Linked DNA regions of Homo sapiens: all the other regions are linked to region 2. Evidence: promoter capture Hi-C in 16 types of primary human blood cells and fetal thymus (Javierre and others, 2016). All regions are on one chromosome and are shown on one strand. The core of a region is centred on a gene start or on the middle of the fragment in contact, and the rest is flanking DNA. Distances in the headings are between cores, read along the strand shown. Region 1 overlaps SMCHD1 (structural maintenance of chromosomes flexible hinge domain containing 1). Region 2 holds the start of MYL12B (myosin light chain 12B). Region 3 overlaps SMCHD1 (structural maintenance of chromosomes flexible hinge domain containing 1). Region 4 overlaps DLGAP1 (DLG associated protein 1). Region 5 overlaps SMCHD1 (structural maintenance of chromosomes flexible hinge domain containing 1). Region 6 overlaps SMCHD1 (structural maintenance of chromosomes flexible hinge domain containing 1).

Region 1 (2,971 bases), core at 70-2,569, 550 kb after region 2:
GGCTAAAACGGTGAAACCCCGTCTCTACTAAAAATACAAAAAATTAGCCGGGCGTAGTGGCGGGCGCCTGTAGTCCCAGCTACTTGGGAGGCTGAGGCAGGAGAATGGCGTGAACCCGGGAGGCGGAGCTTGCAGTGAGCCGAGATCCCGCCACTGCACTCCAGCCTGGGCGACAGAGCGAGACTCCGTCTCAAAAAAAAAAAAAAAAAAAGACAAACATCCAAACTATACATAACAACCAAGTGAGATTTACTCTTGGAATGCAAGCATGGCTCAACAAATAAAAAACAAACAAGGCTACGTGCAGTGGCTCATGCCTGTAATCCTAACACTTTGGGAGACTGAGGCAAGAGGTCATTTGAGGCCATGAGTTTGAGACTAGCCTGGGCAGCATAGGAGACCCTGTCTCCACCACAAAAAAAAAAAAAGGGAGCCATGGTGGCTCAGGGCAGTTGTCCTGGTGCATAAGGAGGTGAGGCTACGCGTTCGAGGCCAACCTCGTCAATATTTTTAAAAAACTCTCATCCATTGATAAAAAGAAAAAAAAAAATTAGCTGGGTGCAATGAGCATGTCTGTAGTCCTAGCTACTCAGGAGGCTGACGTGGGAGGACCACTTGAGCCCAGGAGTTTGAGGCTGCAGTAAGCCACGACTGTGCCGCATCATTCCAGCCTGGGTGACAGAGTGAGAACCCGTCTCAAAAAAAACCCCAAAAAACAAAAAACAACCAATCAACGCAATACATCACTTTGAGAGAATAAACCTACATAATTATCTGGACTGATGCAGAGAAAACATTTGGGAAAACAATACTCTTTCATGATAAAAACACTACACAAGGAATAGAAAGAAACTTCTTCAACATGATAAAGGCCTTATATAAGACCCGCAGTTAACATCGCATGTACTCAACTGTTAAAGACTTAAAAGCTTTTCCTCTAACATCAGGAACAGGACAAGATTCTCATTTTGGTTACTTCTATTCAACATAGTATTTTAAGTCCTAGCCAGACCAATTAGGTAAGAAAAAGAAATAAAAGGCATCCACTTTGGAAAAGAATAAGTTATTTCCGTTCATAAATGACATGTTCATATATGAAAAAACCTAAATAATCCATAAAAAAAACCCTGGTATAGCTAATAAACTCAGCAAAGTTGCAGATACAAAATCATGTTCACGGATTGAATGACTTACAATTGCTAAGGTAAAAATAATACTCAAAGTGATCTGCATATTCAGTGTAATCCCTACCAGGATCGCAATGGTGTTTTCTGCAGAAATAGAAAAACGCATCCTACATTCATAGGGAATCTCCATGGACCCAAATAGCCAAAACAATCTTAAAAAACAAGAATAAAGTTGGAGGACTCACACCTCCTCATTTTAAAACTTACAAAGCTACAGTAAACAAAAACAGTGCAGCATGGGCATATGAACAGACATATAGACCTAGGGAACAGGGAGCCCAGAAATAAATTCTCACATATGTGGTCAACTGACTTTCAACAAGTGGGCCAAAACAATTCAATAGAGAAAGTATAGTCTTTGACAAATGGTGCTGGAAAAACTGGATATCTACAGGCAAAAGAAGTTTTCCATATAAAAAGAAGTTAACCATATGCAAAAGTCAAGGTCAGATGGATCAAAGTAATAACAACAGAGCTAAAGCTATAAAATTTGTAAGGAAAAAACATTCAGGAAAAGCTTCGTAACACTGAATTTAGTAACAATCTCTTGGATAAGACACCAAAAGCACAGCCAACAAAAGAAAAAAGAAACTAATTGTTTGTCAAAATTAAAAAGTTTTGTGCATCACAGTCACCATTGACAAAGTGAAAAAGCAACCCACAGAGTGGAAGAAAATATCTGTAAATCATTTATCTGATAAGGGATTAATATCCAGGATTATAAAGAACTCTTACAACTCAACAACAAAATTTAAAAATGGCCAAAGGACCTGAATAGACCTTTGTCCAAAGAAGATATACAGATGGCAATTAGCCCATAAAAAGATGGCCAAAATCACTGAATATTGGGGAAATGCAAATCAAAACCACAATTATCTTTAGTAGGAAAAAGGGGGGAAAAAACCACAGTAAGATACCACTTCATATCTGTTAGGATGGCTATTATCCGTCCCCCACAAAAAAACCCACAGGAAATAACAAGTGGGGGTGACATGGAGAAACTGGAATGTACAATGAGGCAACCACTGTGGAAAACAGTACGGCAGTTTCTCAATAAATTAAATAATAATATGACCCAGCAAGTCCACTTTTGGGAATGTATCTAAAAGGAACCAAAGCGGAGACTCAAAGAACTATTTGTACACTGATGTTCACAGGAGCATTCTTCACGATAGACAACAGGTGAAAGTAACCTGAGTATCCATCAAACAAATGGATAAACAAAATATGGTGTATGTGTATACATGTGTGTGTGTATATATATATATATATACACATATACACATATATACACACACAAGGGAATATTATTCAACCTTAAGAAGGAATGGGAATTCTGACACACTATGCTAAGCGAAACAGGCCAGACACAAAGGACAAATATAATTCCATTTTTATGAGGTACCTAAAATAGTCAAATTCAGAGACAGAAAGTTAAAAAGTAGTTACCAGGGCAGGGAGAAAGGAGTGATGAAGAGTTATTACTATAGAGTTTCAGTTTGAAATGATGAAAAAATGCTTTACATGGATAGTGGTAATGGTTGCACAACAATATGAATGTACTTAATGCCACTTCATAAATTTCATGTTAATATGTTATATATATATATATATATATATATATATATATATATATATGAAGTTATTGAAAATAGAAGCAGGGACCAGCCTGACCAATATGATGAAACCCCATCAAACCCCATCTCTACTAAAAATACAAAAATTAGCTGGGAGTGGTGGCATGTGCCTGTAATCCCGGCTACTCAGGAGGCTGAGACAGGAGA
Region 2 (3,327 bases), core at 643-3,142:
TTTTGTATGTGTTAACACATTTAATCCTCACGACAACTCATCATATAGGTATTGTTATCATCCTCTTCTCTCAGATACGAAAATCAGGGTAAAGAGAATAAACAACTTGCCACACAGCTAGAAAATGGCAGAGCTCAGTCAGGATCTGTACTCAGGAAATCTAGCTCCAGAGCTTGAACCACTAGCCAGTAACATCCTGCATACAGGCAGCTGAAATTCTCTACCATGAAAATGTGGATACCTGGGCATAACAAGCAATGACACCCCAAAGCTAATGTGTAGAATGAGGAAGGAAGATCACAAAGATGCTGGCAAAAAGGGTATGATAAACTCATCCCCAGATATACCTGGAGCCTTTGAATCTTGGGAGAAAGGGAAAACTAGCCCCATGTCGGGGCTCTAAATCCTGTTCTTTCCTAACCCTAGCAACTCTTGTCTGGACATCTGTCCTTCAGAAATTGCAGTTCATCTTGTTCAAGCTTAGTTTCATCAAAGCATAAACGAACATCGAGTCAGCCATCATAAAAGCTGTTTCACTCAAAAGAGCCTAAAGCACTCAAAAGTGCTCTTAGTTATAAAGTCCAGGAGGGTCCACCACCTTCGACAAATTACCTCACCTCTCTGGGTTTCACTTTCCTCAGTTATAAAACGCAAAGCCTTCACAAGGTAATCTATCAGGTCCTACTGAATTCTAAATGCTTTGATTCTTCTCTTACCAAAAGACCATTCCAAATCTACCTTAAACTAAAGCGGCCAAACGAATCCTCTAAACATCCCTTTCTTATTACTCCGTTAGTGAAGACTCCAAAATTACTCTCTATGGCTTCTTAGATAATCTTTTCTTTCTCCTAAGTTTTCAAGACATCCATAAGAAGGTCCTACTTACCTATCTACCCTTATTTCCGACTATTAGTCATTACAGTTCTGTTCCATACCCGCCGGTGTCCCCACGGCCTGCTTTTCACAGGACACAATTCCCAGCTTTTGAGTTTTGCTCGTTACCACCTCCCACACATCTAGCCGGAAACGCTAAGTTCTCCCTCTTAAGGTTGAATCCAAGGCCTTCAGTGAGGTCACGACTCTTTTCCAAGTAACCTTTCCCTATTTCTGTTAATGGTCCTTTCTTCAATCAACACGAATAAACTAAACCTTTACAAGATGCAAGACACACTGAGCGAATTACAACTCTATGTAAATCATCACATTTGAGCCCGTATCAACCACACACTCGGTTACCGGCATGCTAATGGCTTCCTTGGAGGCTTCACCTTAGGCAAGACCGTGCAACAGGAGGCTCCTCCACCCTCCAAAGCATCTAGGATAGTGTTGGGCACAGGGCAGGTGCTCCACACGAACACGCCCGGGTCGGCCCCAATCCACCGCCAGGACCCGCCGCGGCGCCGGGAGGGCAGGCGTTGGCCGCCGGGCAGCCGGGCCGTCCAAGGCCCAGGTGTCTGAGGTCACCCAGGTGGCGCAGGGCCGGCCCACGCACGGCCGGGACCCGGCCACTTCTCCAGCAGGGCGTCTCCCCATACCGGCTCCATCGCCTGCAGCCTCCCGGCCCCTGGACGTCCGGGCCAGGGCCTCGCCACCAACCCTCCTCCCGCCGCCAACCCTCCTCCCTCCACCTCCGGCCCCGCGCCCCCTTCTCAGCCAGTCTGACAGGTCCTGCCGCCGCCTGGCCGCCCTGGGGCGGGGTCCGGCCGCAGGCGCGCGACGGGAGGGGGCGCGGGGGTACGGAGACGGCGGCCCGAGGGGTCTCGCGAGCAGAGTCGAGCGCGACTCACCCGACGCCAAACACCAGAACCGGGGCCGCCCTGCGCGAGACCACAAACGACAGCGAAGAGCGTTAGGCTGTGGCCGGACAGTGGCGGCGCCGACACTTCCTGCCTGAAGGGGCGGAGCGGAAGGCGCACCGGAAGGCGCACCGGAAGGCGCACCGGAAGGCGCGGCGGGACCAAGTGGAACGGGGGTGCGCTGAGTGTTCGCGCCCGGGCCGGCGGGGTCTGCGTGTCCGCCGAGCGGCGGGGCTGCTGAGGCCGGACGCACACGGCCGGGGTCTTAATTGCCCCTCCGGCCTGCTCCGATCCGCTGCGATATCGCGGCCTGCGCTGCGGCGGTCGTCCGCAGCCCGGCCCTCGTCCCCCGCTCCTTTGGTAGCTCCGCCACCCTTCCGCATTCCTGGGCCCGCTGGGCGCGGCTGGGCAGGCCGCTGGAATTTGACCCGAGTGGGCCGCGATCGGCCGAGGATTTGGGGTCCCCTTTGACCCAGGCGGGGCGCGATCCGCCTAGGATTTGGGGTCCCCTGGCGCCGAACCCTGAGTTGCCAGATGTAGCAAGTAAAAGTACAGTTCTTCTAAATTTGAATTTCAGACAAGACAGGTTTTAGGGTTCGTCTCATGTAATGTTGAGAAGGTGAGGGCGGCGCCTGGGCGGATTCTTCTCCGTTCCAGAATCCCTTTCTCTTTTCAAACCGCATTACAGCCCGAGTTAAATTCTTTAACCTACTCCTCTCTGCTTACCCTCATAAGGTTTACGGCCGTATCAGGCTACGGCCGCAGCCTACGGCTGTTTGATTCCCCTTTTGGCCACAAGAAAGTTTTATTCGAACTACTTGCTTTCCTTTATCAAGAAAATGGCAACGCACACACATACATGCACACACAAATAAAAACACAAAGCTACGTTTTTCAGGTTTTGTTCTAGATCGTGTTTGTGGCTGTGTTCTTCAGGATATTTTCCCTCACCTTGAGGTAATCTAGCATTACTTCATCTAGCATTACTAAAATAGCATTACTTCAGGATGGTGGAGGATCGGCAATCTAATAGCAAATCTTTATTGAACTCTTCTTACTGCCTTAACATGTGCCGGATGCTGAGAGATGAATTCAAAGCCTCTTAGGGAGTTTATATTCTAGAAATCTTTGATCAGAAATTCCTAGAAGAGAGGGACCTTGTGTTCAGCACTCTGTAGCAGTTCTTAAACAGTAGCACGCATAATAACAGGGCTTTTAAAAACATTTTTGAGCCTCAAAACCGGGTATCAGGATTCAGTGAGTAAGGGGTGGAGGATAATTCGAATTTCTGGTAAGCACACATGATGCTGATGGGGTGGTCGCCATCCCAGCAGCACAGCTCTAAACGCGGTTCATAACTGTGTGTATTTTCTCAATAGTGTTAGAAAAGCAATTGCTGAAAAGTCACACCTGGTTCTACAATATTTACTCTTAGGTTTTGGTTCGATAGTCTAAATTAAAAAAAAAAAAGTTTCTAGAATTGTGCTGTCCAATACAATCGTCACTAACCACATGCAGCTAAACTTAAATT
Region 3 (3,365 bases), core at 425-2,924, 530 kb after region 2:
AGTATTTACAAAAGTCCTAATGCCTGCTGCTCTTGCCTCCAAGTCCAGATTCCTCCCTAATTCATAGTCATCTTTTGCAAGAAAGTGTGCTCAAAAGTATGTTGCCCATATTATTGCATAAAGAAAATGCATAAAAAATACTTTAAGCTTATCAAATATAACAAGCTTAAAAAGAACTGGAATGAAGAGTCATCTCATTCTAATTTAAAAAGTAAAAGACATCTTGTATCCATTTGAGGTTCAAGCTATGTTAATAACTGATGTATAATTAGTAGGAAAGTATGAGTTAATCAACCAATTAGATTATCTATCACCATATCAATTACTAAGAAATCACATTTAAGTATTTTACTTAAGTATCTGTTACCCTACTCAGCAACCTTTGAAGTTTTACTTAAGTATTTGTTATCCCACTCCACAACCTTAGATTGTTTACAGCTCTTGCCTCCATGTTGGCTTTGCTATCAGCCACGATGAATCACCAATAAAAAGCATCCTACTGGCACATGATATAGAAATCCCTTTGTGGGCCAGGCACGGTGGCTCACGCCTGTAATCCCAGCACTTTGGGAGGCCGAGGTGGGTGGATCACGAGCTCAGGAGGTCGAGACCATCCTGGCTAACACGGTGAAACCCCATCTCTACTAAAAATACAAAAAATCAGTCAGGCGTGGTGGCGGGTGCCTGTAGTCCCAGCTACTGGGGAGGCTGAGGCAGGGGAATGGCGTGAACCCAGGAGGCAGAGCTTGCAGTGAGCTGAGATCGTGCCACTGTACTCCAGCCTGGGCAACAGAGCAAGATTCCATCTCAAAAAATATAAATAGAAATAAAAAAAATCCCTTTGTGTAAAAACACAAATAAAAAGCTATGTGTGTATAGAAAATTACATACAAAAATTAAAGGTTTATATGTCCTTCCATGGTGGTTTAAACAGAGATATTTACCAAGCTTTCTAAAACAAATGAGAACGATAAAAAGCAAAATGGCTGGGCACAGTGGTGCACACCTATAACTTCAGCACTTTGGGTGGCCAAGGTGGGAAGACTGCTTGTGGACAGGAAGTTGAGATCAGACTGGGCAACACAGCAAGACCCTCTTTTTCAAAAAATAAATAATAAATAAATAACCAGGTGCATTGGTCCTTGTCTATAGTCCCAGTTACTTGGGAGGCTGAGGTGAGCACATCACTAGAGCTTAGGAGTTGGAGGCTGCAGCAAGTCATGATTGTGCCACTGCACTCCAGCCTAGACAACAGAGTGAGACCCTATCTCTTTAAAAAAAAAAAAAAGCGAAAGAATAAAATTATGTATTTTAATAGAAGAAAAATATTTTAGGGAAATGTAAATCAATAATAGTTATAGACACTATAAAAGACACTGTAAAAATCAAGACAATTACTAATATTTGACACAAAATGTTAAAATAGTCATTACAGCATTTCATATTGTCTTTGCTTTGCTTTGGCTGAAAGAACCACAAATACCTCATTTTCAGAAGTTAACAATTTTGCAAAAAATGTTATTAAGCAGTTGAAGACTATTTGTATGAAGACTCAATATAATATCAATGAGTAACAATAATAACTTACAGGTATTTCAATTCTTGCTTTAAGCGTCTGGTCTTTTTTAATATTCTGAACTTGAATTGCAGATCCTGTTAAAATACTGGTTCCAGAACTACTGCAATCTACAACATAGACTGGAAGGTTTGGAGCACCTGAAAACTATTTGAAAGATGAAAAATAATGTAAGACCCCTATTAAATATATTTGATTCTTCCGTAATTGTTCAAAGTTTCAAATAATTCAGTAGAGCTACTATTTCTGGCAATGAATAAGAAAATTCTAAGTAAAAGTCACTAAAACTCTAGAATACTGAACAAAAACAGTAATTTTCTACTATACTATGTAAAATTTATCTGTTTTGGAAGGAAAGAACTAACTTCCTCAATTACAATCCTTTTCTTTTTTACTTAACTGGATTTTCTTTTTCTTTCTGCGGTCTTTTACCTACCTTCATTTAGTCATCATTCCCTTTTTTTTTTTTTCCCTAAAGTAAAGGAATAAAGAATGGCTACTCCATAGGCAGAGCAGCCCATTCCCAATCCTGAAAGACATTTTTGTCTTTCTATTCATATATATGAAATGAGAGGCATGGAGTCAAGAGAGGAGAGGTGAGTAAACTTTTATTCACAAATTTATGAAACTGGGCACAGTTGGCATCTTTATTGGTTTAGGTACGATTAAAAAAAAAAAACTATTGGCAATAAGATCCCACAAATCCTTCCACGGAATAATCGTTTCAGACTTAAATCCTGTGTAAGACTTACTATTAAGTGGCTAAAATAGTCATTGCCACTTACTACAATGGGACTCAATCTAAATATCTTCCAATAAGCTTACCTTACAATGAACAATCAATTTTGGTTGTGCTGTTATGTTGTCTGATTCATCTAAAACTTCCACCTGAAATGGGAAAGCTGTTCCATTTTCTATAACTAAAATTTCAGAATCAGGTTTCACTTTCAGTCGACGAGGGTGACCTAACAGTAAATTATACAATGAAATACATATTCAGGTTTCAAAGACTAAAGTACTGAAATAGCAAAAGAAATAACTTTAACATTAAAGACTTAATATTTTATAAATATTGCCAAGAAAGAAAAATATAGGCAATGTCCATGCTTAATCAGTTTCATCCCAAAATGCACAGATTCAATACATGACAAGACTTATCTCAATTGTATAAAATGCTTGGTGTCTAGGCTAAGTTTTATTCCACAAGGTACAACACAGTGATAATTCATATTAGAAATCACCTAAAATCTTTAAAAGATACTGGGAAAAAGGTATTCAAAAACAAAAATAACAGCTTATTAAAACTATTTACCAATCTTACCTGATGATTTTTCTGGCACAAGTAACTATATGTTTTAGACATTCAAAGAATTAGTTCTTGTAATGACATGATCAGGTCATTTACTTGTTAGATTGCCCACTACCTCTGATGTCATAAGCAATTAACATCACAAATTTCCTTTAAGATTAAGAAAAGTAGGCTTATACTTCTACAGTAAGCCAGTCTGATTCGTTCATAAACACTGATATTTTAAAATTCAATTAATGCTACATACTGATAACAAGTATATGGAGAGAATTACTTAAAATATTTTATTTTGTACTAATATTAGTTATATTCATTCATTTACTATATATGAAGCACTGTGCTAAGTTTTTTTAAGCACTATTCTTACGTAAACTTCACAATAATCTTAATGAAGACGTTACTATTATCATCATCCCCATTTTACAGGTAAGGAAACTGGGATTCAGAGAAATTAAGTATTTTGTCCAGGTCACAAGGCTA
Region 4 (3,366 bases), core at 258-2,757, 520 kb before region 2:
TTGGTACTTATTCACTGCTTTCATCTAAGACAATGTAAAAATGCGAACAACACACTCCATGAAATCTCTATTAGGTTGTGGTTCCTCATTGAAGCACATTCATTTTCCACTGTTCTTTGACTTTGAGCTAGAAGCCAGAGTTCGTCATTAATACCAAGTTTCTGATAACTAGAGGAGACATTGTCCAAAAATTTATTGAGCTGAAATGTCTTGTTTTATACAACAGATGCACCACTTGAAAGCAATTTAAAAATAAACACTGCAGTCATTCACTCCTATTTTCCATTAACTTAGCTTATTTTTGAGGTACACTTAAAAGGCTTGGTCTTTGCTCAGTGAGGGCCCCATGTTCTCACCTGTGACTGCAGGTGATTGGTCAAATGCTGAGAGTTCCTTGTCAGAACCAAGGACTGCTGAAGTTGGAGAGTTCCATGCTGGCACGCACCATAGCTAGTCCAAACCCAAGACCACACATACCACTGATAGCCTTTTCCATGGATGACATCTTCTCTGCATTAGAAAGATATTATTCACTAAGCCCACATGTGCCTCTGTAATTTTTACTGGTTTATTCTCATTAAGTATTTTAACAGGTTTATTTCTATTTTCTGTAACTATTTTTGGTTTCCTAGTACTACATAGGGGCCTATCTAGTCATCATCATCGTCATCATAAAAACCAAATGGGAGCATTTGGTGCAAAATAATGCATTTGAATTATCTCAGCCTTTGACCTCTGTGGATGGGAGAATAATGCCCCCCAAAGATGTCTAAATCCCAATCCCTAGAACCTGTGAATTTGTTACCTTACATGACAAAATGGACTTTGCAGATGTGATTAAGTTCAGGATCTTGAGATGAAGAGATTATCCCAGTGAGATCAATGTCATCTGAGGGATCTTATAAAAGGGAGGCAGGAGGGTCTGGGTCAGGGGAGGAGATGACAGCAGAAGCAGAGTTGGAGAGAGAAGGAAGCATTGGAGGATGCTGCACCACTGGCTTTGAAGATGTAAGAAAGGGCCACAGCCAAGAAATATAGACTGCCTCTAGGAGGGAAAAAAGGCTGAAGGAAGCCAGCACACTTTACCCCAAAATATGACTGAACTACAGAAGTAGCCTCAAAGTCCTCAAGGTCTCTCTGACCTGCTCCCCTGCTCCCTTTCAATCCTCTGTTTCTCCTAAGGCATAGGGCGAAGCTTTTCTTCGGTATTCTCTTATCCACCTGGGAACCAGACCCCAAAGAGAACCACAGTTGCCTTCCACCTCCCATCCCTGTAAATCTCATTCGCTATCTCAGAAAAGAACACTGAGGATGCAAACCCACCTGGACAGACCTTTTCACAAGACAATACCTCCCAGGTTCATTCAAAATCCAAATTCCATTTACAAGTTAATTTCTGTCTTCTAGGCCCATTCATTCTCCCTAATGATCATTTACTGCCCCTCAAAAGAATGGTCTACATTCCCCCATGTCCCCCTCCCCTAGGCAGAAGGCTTTATAAGATCTGTACTCCACTGAGTTATTGAGTACTCATTCTCCTGCAATTCTCCCATGCTATGCACATTAGAATAAATGTTGCATGCCTTTTTTTCTATTAATCTGCTTTTTGTCAGCCAGTTTTTCAGTGAACCTTCAGAGGGCGAAGGGGATGTTTTCCTTGGGCCCCTACAAAGCAAAGGAACAGGCTGTCCCCTCCAGCATCCGTAAGCAACTCAGCCCTGCTGAGACCTTGACTGCAGCCCTTAAGACCCATTCCAGCCTTCCAGCCTCCAGAACTGTAAGATAATAACTCTGTGGGTTTTCTAAGCCTCTAAGCTTGTGGTAATTTGTTACAGCAGCAACAGGAAACTAATACAGCCTGTTCTTCAAAACTACTTCCATCAGTGGGAGCACAAATGAAGTGAATGAATGCACAACTGCTGCATAGATTATTTAAAAACATATGAGAAGGGAAGCAGTCATTATTTTTCAGTCTGTAAAGTAAGGTGGATTTTTTTTAAAGGGAGAAGTACCTGGGTTTTCATTTTACAAACCCAGAAAAGGCCTTGCAGCAGGAGCGTGGTTGTATGATACAGGGAGCAGCAAGAAGGCCAGTGGCTGGCAGCAGGAGGACAAGGGACAAGGGGTAGAAGACGAGGCCAGGGAGGCAGCCAGAGCCCTGTCACCTGCATGTTTACAGGTTTCACTTGAATTTTAGAACCAATTCTAGAGATTATCTTTGTTTTCTCAATACAGTTTTTAACAAAATAAAATTCTGGCAGCGCCTTTTCCCCAAGGCTCTCGCTCATTGCACTGGATCCAGACTGGGCCTGGAACGTCCCCCTTTTTTCCTCGTCAGGAGCAGTTCTGTGTGGGCACCCCAGGAGCATCGCGGGCGCAGAGCCGGGCAGGGATCCGGCCGTCATCAAGAGGCCTAATCAGAGAACGCACTGACATTGTGGGTGGGTTGCCGTTGATTGGGAGAAAATGTCTTCAGCATTTGGACACCTGAACAGAGGAGTAAAAATAGATTCTCCAGGATTCTTAAAAAATAACACATACACGGCAGACCCAAGTCATTCCAGAGACTATAACAGCTTACGAAAAAGAAGAAGAAAACGGAAAACAAACCTTGATAGAAAAGAAGGCTAGGATAGAGGTTGGTGAGTACCCGGCCCCCAGGTTGTTGCTACACATCGAGACCCAACAACTAGGGGGGGTCCAAGAAAGAAGCAGCCGAGATGAGGTGCCTTGTGCGCCTAAACAGGCCAACTCGGGGGAGCCTAGGATGCAGCACACAGGAACAAACAATGGCTTGGGGGCTGACACTTCTCCCTTCATCGGCCTCCCACTTACACATGGATTTGCAAACATACACACAAACACAATTTGTTTCTTTACACTCTAGTCTGTGCAATGACTTCCATTGTAGACAAAAGACCTCATGCTCAAATTTGGAAATTATGCTTTTGTTGGACACACAAGATCAGCATACAGAGAGAAAAATGAGCCCACCAGCCAGGGGCCAGGAGCAAAAAGCAGACAAAAAGCAGATTAATTTAAGCACTTTACCTCAGTGCTTAAACATCGGTTTCACTTATGAGGACACATAAGATTCTCACCACCACCAGTATTACCCCTCTCGAAATCGCTGTGGCATCCATAGAAAGGGAAAAGCCTTATATTCACATGTAAGCAACTTCCAAAGGATATTGCTTTTTGTAGTAACCACTTTATTTAGATATAATGCACATACTATATAACACACCCATTTTTTAAGTGTACGATGCAATGGTTTTTTGTATCTTCACAGCTGTGCACCACCACTATCAATTTTAGAACATTTTCAGCACCCACAAATCCCCATGCCTATTGGTAGTCATGCCC
Region 5 (3,268 bases), core at 130-2,629, 510 kb after region 2:
AGCAAACATTCAGAATAACAGTGAATTTGTAGACCACAGTAGAAGAAAAATCAGACTTTCTCCCAAATCCTAAAACCCATCTCAACTTAATAGAACCTAAAGAGTAGGTAATAATGGTACATGCAGACAGGAAAAGCAATAGCTGAACAGGAAAAAATGAGAAAGGGTACTTGAAATGATAGGATGAAATCCTATGTTTATACCTGTCCCAATTACCCTCTGGTCCATTGTCTCTCAACCCATCTTTCTCAAAGTATGTCTCCCATCTGGGTATCAAATCCTTACTGCTAAGCCAGAGAAGTAAGTCTTTTCAGGTCTTAGAGCAGCAGTATCATAGCCTCATTTAACAGACTCATTTAAAAACTCCAACTGTAATTACTATGAAAACAGGTCCATGTGTAACAAGCCATTCTTGGCACTTTAATCTTCCATACGACTTTTAAGATCACCTTTTCAGGTTCTGGGAAATCCCTGTTGGGATTCTGATTGAACTATAAATAATTGCAAGAGAAACATCATCTTTACATGATATCAACTGGTTTCTCCATTACATTTATATTTATTTTTTATATGTGGAGGGATACTCAAGATTGTCTGAATATGACCCCAACTCCCTCTGGCTTGCTTAGCAACAACCTGGCTGGGACCAATGAATTCCCTTCAACCAACAGAAGAGACAGTATAAAAATACAACTTTATGGCCAGGCGCAGTGGCTCACACCTGTAATCCCAGCACTTTGGGAGACCAAGGCGGGTGGATCACCCGCGGTCAAGAGTTTGAGACCAGCCTGGCCAACGTGGTGAAACCCCGTCTGTACTAAAAATACAAAAATTAGCTGGGCATGATGGCACATGCCTGTAATCCCAACTACTCAGGAGGCGGAGGCAGGAGAATTGCTTTGAACCTGGGAGGCAGAGGTTGCAGTGAGCCAAGATCACGCCACTGCACTCCAGCCTGGGGCGTTGCAGCGAGACTCTGTCTCCAAAAAAAAAAAAAAAAAAATTTATATACACACACACACACACACACACACACACACACACACACACAACTTTGCAAAGACTAGCAGCTTTTCCTCTTTCCCCTAGAAGGAGTGCCTCCAACTTTGCACCAGCCACTAGATCCCATGCAGCTTCTCAATACTCATAGGAATAAATGATACCTAATCTTGAACTTTCTGGTAGTCAAGACTGTTCCCAAACTTTACAAGACCATGTTCATACTTGCCCCATAAAAAGAACAATAAAGGGCAGGAGCCTCACCCTAAAATATATCAGTATGTTCCAGTAGCTCTGCCCAGGATTTGGTAGCTCTCCATAAGATAAGTAGAGGATAGGTACCTGCAAGACTTTTTTTGTTTAGCCTCACCATGTATGTTTCCCCAATAATGCCTGTTCCTTAATCCATTCTGTAGGTCACTGTGATATCTGTCTTCATTCACTTTGTCAGTGTTAATTATCTATTTATTCATCCTAATCTGAAATGCAAGTCTTACTAGCACTATATAAGAAACACTAAAACAGCCATAACTGTACAATGTTGGCCCCTTGTTGTACTACTGTAAGATATAAACTTTATTTCCTCAAAATAATTTTAAAAATTTTTGAGGTTTATTTACACTAAGCAATAATAAAGATTATGTAAAATATATTTTTTAGAAAAGAAGCAATATGACAGCTAAAGATACTATCATGAAAATGAAATCCAGAATTTTAAATGAAGATGTAAGGAAGTTTAAAACTTACCTTTAAATTGCTAGCTTTTGTAAGACTTATTTTAACATGTTGTACCGGTGCTGGATTATCCCACTGATCACAAAGTTGAACAATAATAGGGTTCTGTAAATCTCTTCCATTAATCACTGGAATGGACTGAAAAGAATAGAAATATTTTAAGAAACACTAAAATATATGGGCCAAACAATGCAATTACTTGTATATTTGTGTAACGATCACTTAATTTATCTCTGTTCTATTTGCAAATGGCTTCTTTGGTCAATGAAAATGAACTTTTGAAAGCCAACTAAATTGTGTGACCCTCTTATCAAAATGATAAATGATCTGAAAAAAGAAAAAGCAACACCTGACATTACAGTCTTCCCTCAGTATCCACAGGAGATTGGTTCTAGACCCCAGTGGATACCAAAAGCTGCAGGTACTCTTTTATATAAAATTGCATAGTATTTGCATATAACCTAAGCATACACTTGAAATCATCTTTAGATTACTTTTAACATCTAATACAACGCAAATGCTATGTAAGCACTAGAATGTGTTCAACAGCAACAGAAACCTATCTTTGGTTCTCAGATTTAGCATTGGCAATCTGTAGTTTAGCTTCTCCCTCAGTCAGTGTTCAGCTCTCTGCTATTGTGCATTAAAAGCAGTAACATGGCTTTCTAGCCCTTGGTTAAATAGGACTATTCACTGATGATCTACACTGTCTTGCTGATTTAAAATGCTTCTTGCTGTTTCCCCAGCTAGTATATAAGGCTGTATAAATCTAGAAATCTGCCTACTGACCTATTAATATTGGGCACATCAAAGGAAACACAGTGTTAAACAAGATACCTGACAAAAGCCCAATCCCCTGGGCCAACATTTTAAAAGTTTACAAAAGATGGAAGGGAACTAAAGGACAACTACAAAAAAAAACTGATTTATCACCTCTCCTCTAACAAGAAAGTTCCTTCTGCTGCTTCTACCCCCTACTCTTAACTGAGGTAGCTGGTTACCAGATTATGGGGAAAGGCTGCTGAAAATGGAAAGAAAAATTAACAGTCTGCTATGAATAAGACATTATGAAAAAAACCAAACACCCTTGAGATTGGTTTAGTTATGTCCCTCTACCATAAAGTTTACACAGCTACAGCCATGTTCCCTCTGCCAAAGTTTATAAAAAGCTTGAATTTTGAAAACTGCTGAGTTTCCAAATGTAAACATACAGTATTTCATTCCTAATCAAATAACTGTTTACCCAAACTACCTTTAAAGGACAGTCTAAGTTTTTAAAGGACTCCTATCTACTTTTAAAGGTTATCTTTAAGTAAATGACTTGTAGTCCAAACTGCTAATGTTTTCTAGAAAATAGTAGAAAAAGCAAATTTCCAAAATCAAATGTCCATAAGCATTTTAATATCACATTTAATGTCACTTTTTAATACTGGCATGTTAATATTTCAGAATTTCAGTTTCCTCATTTACTTGTATTTTATTTTATTTTTTTACTTTTTTACAGAAACAAATTATCACTATGTTGCCCCACCTG
Region 6 (3,335 bases), core at 199-2,698, 570 kb after region 2:
TAAACCGATTTTAGAATCATAAACGAAAAGGTAAAGACAAATACTGAGTTTTAAAATGCCTTAAAAAATTGAGGACACTTACCCCTAGGGTAGAATGAACGCTTGCTTGGGAGACCTACCACTTAACTTGGTCAGGACCAATGCCCAGCCCTCCATGTTCAAGAAAACTACAGGGCAGGCTGGACCCAGCTAGCTAAGCCCAAACACATAGTGCTTAAAAGTAAAATCATCCTGGACACCAACCCACTTTCAGAGAATATCTAAAACTTATGGAAGGGAGTTAGTAGGGGAATTTGAGGATAAAATTACAAACTTCTCCATCTGTAGTATGAATCTATGTTTTAAAAAATTGCAGGCCGGGCGTGGTAGCTCACTCCCGTAATCCCAGCACTTTGGGAGGTTGAGGCGGGCAGATCACCTGAGGTCAGGAGTTTAAGATCAGCCTGGCCAACAAGCCGAAACCCCATCTCTACTTAAAATACAAAAGTAGCCAGGCGTGGTGGTACACGCCTATAAACCCAGCTACTAGGGAGGCTGAGGCAGGAGAATCGCTTGAGCCCGGGAGGCTGAGGTTGCAGTGAGCCAAGATCGCGCCACTGCACTCCAGCCTGGGCAACAAGCATGTCTCAAAAAACAAACAAACAAACAAACAAACAAACAAAAAACATGGTATGCACGCATGCGCGTTTGTGTGTGTATTCATATACAGTCATATGTCACATAACATTTTTGTCAACAATTGACTGCAGTGGTCCCATAAGATGATACAGTATTGTAAAATTAGTGTACCTTTTCTATGTTTAGCTACACAAATATTTACCATTCTGTTACAACTGCCTGGGGTAACAAGCTGTACAAATTTGTAGACTAGGAGCAGTACCCTATACCATATAGCCTAGGTGTGTAGCAGGCTATGCCATCTAAGTTTGTATAAGTACACTCTATGATGTTCACATAGCAACAAAATAACCTAATGACACATTTCTCAGAATGCATCCCTGTCCTTAAGTGATAGGAGACTATATCTACTGTGTATGTTGCTATATACATTATAAAACTGTGGAAATAAAAACAGACTAAACTATTCTATCTAGGAAATCAAGTTGATTTTTAAAAATAAGTATGTATGATTACTTGCTTAATTAAAAAGTGTTACAGCTCTTTCAGAATTTGTCTATCAAATTCTAAAATTTCTGATTTAAAAAACAATAAATCCTTAAGACCATACCCCTTCAAAACCATTATAATGCATCTCTATACACTAATTGCTAATATCACAGCTACAATATATACAAGTAACATTTCATATACTTTGAGTCAGGAGATTAGTCTGAATTTACTAACGATGCAAATTCATTATCCAAATATTTATCAAGCATCTTCTGTAAGTCCTATGCCTCAACTTGGGCCTGAGAAAGATAGGTTCAAGATAAATAAGACAGTGCCTTTGTGCTCTACAAATTCCATCTGGTAGGAGATGAAAAAACAAATGATTACAAAACAATATGCTATTATGTATGAAGATATGAACCAAGAGCTACAGAGGTAAAACGAGGGTGACAGTCACCCAGCAGATGACTGAATAATAACATTCCAGACAAATGAGAACATGAATTCAAGAGCATAAAGGAAACAAGGTAGTTTTAGGACATACGATAAACATGATAAAAGATGAAGCGGGATGGCTGAATTAGAGCAGTGGAAAGTGGGTGGAAGAGAGGATAGATGAAAGAAAATAATATAAAAGACAAAATTAAATGTGCTGAATGATTAACAAAAAGGATTACCAACTTTAACTGCATGGCTAGTGGATGCCAGTAATTGTAAAGGGTAGTTGAGAGGAAGACAGGAGAAGGAGAGAATAAGAAAGGTTTACGGATAATATTTGATCTCTTTCTTTTAAGAGACATGGTCTCTCAATGTTGCCCAGCTGGTCTTGAACTCCTGGGCTCAAGAGATTCTCCCTCCGCAGCCTCCCAAACTGCTAGGATTACAGGCATGAGCCACTGTGCCCAGCCAATATTTGACTTCAAAGGTACCAAAAGTGAGTTACTCCTCGAACACCTAAGAAAGAACATCTAATTGAACCTGGAAATGAGTGTACTGGATATGATCAGTTGGTATTCATCACCCATTCCTACCACCTTTTACTGTACTCTCTTGGGCTGCAGAGGTTGGAAGGCAAAAAAATACTGTTTGGATTGTGGATGCAAATTAGTTTTCACCAATTAGATGTACCAGCCAAAATGTGGATGCCAAAAATGAAGCAGAGGCTATTTCCTGAAGTTTTTTAAAAGTTTTGTGTTATCACACAAGGCACTGAAAGATCAGTAACCAGGTTTCAGGTTTAAAGTGTCAAAAGGCCACTGCAGCCCTAGTTATGGCCAGAAACTCTGTTTTCCAGTTTTGGAGCAATTGTGGCAGTGAGATCATTCCAACTCGTGGATCACAGATACAGCAGCGAGTTCCTGAATCCCAGACCCAGTGGTGGTCCTCTAACTGAATGATTATAGCAAATGTTGCAGCATCCCTCCAGGATAACTTCAGATTCCTGGCATCATTCTAGAAGGCTTAGCCCATAATTCATTCCTTTGGCCCTTCCAATAATCAGGTAAGCATCTAATTCCCTCTATTAAATATTTTCTGTTAAAAGGCCCAGGATGGTCTGTTTCCTTTACTGAAGCTAGCATGATTCAGTGTCTCAGTATTGAGAAAAGTTTTCACACGAAACACAGATTTGAGAGCTTTTGACATAAGTAGCAAATAACACATCTTTAGAAAAGGTAAGACTGTTGACTATAGAACAAGAACCACCAATTCCACCCACATTCTGAAAACTGCTCACAGATCAGAGATAGAAGTCCAACAAAAATAGGCTGGAAAAGACTAGTCAGAAAAGGAAACAGACCAGGTACTTGTTGGTACCCAAGAAATGTTTGTTGGGAAGAACTAAGCACAAAACACAGAAAAGGCTGGCAGAAAAATGGTGCTCCAAGAGACACAGTTGTATACAAGCTTTGTAATATGCACACAGTTTTGAAAACCACCTAAATTCTCAATTCCTATTTTTCACCAGTTTTATCATGGCAAGTAATATTTCCACCATTATATTTTATAGGGCTCTGTGGTGGTTAAGACAAGATGGAATACTGTTATGTAAAAATATCAAAATATGCAATTTGTTAAGTAAATGAAACAAAGAAAAGAAAGTAATGTCCTGCACAAAGGGTATATTAAGTTATCGAGAAAATAAAAGTGGATAATAAAATGGAAAAAAAAAATCCAACCCATCAACTAATGAAAGAAAAGGTTTTTTTTTTTTTTTTCAATTATCA

Evidence for each region. The method cuts DNA at HindIII sites, captures the fragments that hold promoters and counts their contacts. A CHiCAGO score of 5 or more calls a contact.
Region 1: a fragment that was not itself captured here is called in contact with the fragment with the promoter of MYL12B in region 2 in 1 of 17 cell types (neutrophils); the score reaches 6.6 in neutrophils.
Region 3: a fragment that was not itself captured here is called in contact with the fragment with the promoter of MYL12B in region 2 in 1 of 17 cell types (neutrophils); the score reaches 6.6 in neutrophils.
Region 4: a contact is called between a fragment that was not itself captured here and the fragment with the promoter of MYL12B in region 2, in 2 of 17 cell types (M1 macrophages and M0 macrophages). The highest score is 5.8, in M1 macrophages.
Region 5: a contact is called between a fragment that was not itself captured here and the fragment with the promoter of MYL12B in region 2, in 1 of 17 cell types (neutrophils). The highest score is 7.9, in neutrophils.
Region 6: a contact is called between a fragment that was not itself captured here and the fragment with the promoter of MYL12B in region 2, in 1 of 17 cell types (neutrophils). The highest score is 6.2, in neutrophils.

The regions. Positions count from the first base shown.
Region 1 is chr18:2,708,722-2,711,692 of GRCh38, reverse strand. The region is part of intron 17 of SMCHD1 (structural maintenance of chromosomes flexible hinge domain containing 1); the gene reads right to left. Among named protein-coding and RNA genes, the nearest start is that of SMCHD1, 54 kb to the right of the region's middle. The HindIII fragment of the contact is 775 bases long and covers 932-1,706 here.
Region 2 is chr18:3,260,698-3,264,024 of GRCh38, reverse strand. It overlaps MYL12B (myosin light chain 12B), which reads right to left and starts at 1,892. Exons shown (of 4, transcript NM_033546.4): 1 at 1,788-1,892. It overlaps MYL12-AS1 (MYL12A and MYL12B antisense RNA 1), which reads left to right and starts at 1,666. Exons shown (of 4, transcript NR_130145.1): 1 at 1,666-1,972; 2 at 2,695-2,753. RefSeq lists a silencer at 1,347-2,236 and an enhancer at 2,447-2,496. The HindIII fragment of the contact is 3,443 bases long and covers 482-3,327 here.
Region 3 is chr18:2,727,633-2,730,997 of GRCh38, reverse strand. SMCHD1 (structural maintenance of chromosomes flexible hinge domain containing 1) reads right to left here. Exons shown (of 48, transcript NM_015295.3): 23 at 2,402-2,541; 24 at 1,589-1,723. Among named protein-coding and RNA genes, the nearest start is that of SMCHD1, 74 kb to the right of the region's middle. The HindIII fragment of the contact is 1,448 bases long and covers 951-2,398 here.
Region 4 is chr18:3,783,634-3,786,999 of GRCh38, reverse strand. All of the region lies in intron 5 of DLGAP1 (DLG associated protein 1), which reads left to right. Among named protein-coding and RNA genes, the nearest start is that of DLGAP1-AS3, 93 kb to the left of the region's middle. The HindIII fragment of the contact is 620 bases long and covers 1,198-1,817 here.
Region 5 is chr18:2,746,126-2,749,393 of GRCh38, reverse strand. It overlaps SMCHD1 (structural maintenance of chromosomes flexible hinge domain containing 1), which reads right to left. Exons shown (of 48, transcript NM_015295.3): 30 at 1,747-1,872. Among named protein-coding and RNA genes, the nearest start is that of SMCHD1, 92 kb to the right of the region's middle. The HindIII fragment of the contact is 3,053 bases long and covers 1-2,905 here.
Region 6 is chr18:2,690,950-2,694,284 of GRCh38, reverse strand. All of the region lies in intron 7 of SMCHD1 (structural maintenance of chromosomes flexible hinge domain containing 1), which reads right to left. Among named protein-coding and RNA genes, the nearest start is that of SMCHD1, 37 kb to the right of the region's middle. The HindIII fragment of the contact is 3,138 bases long and covers 1-3,017 here.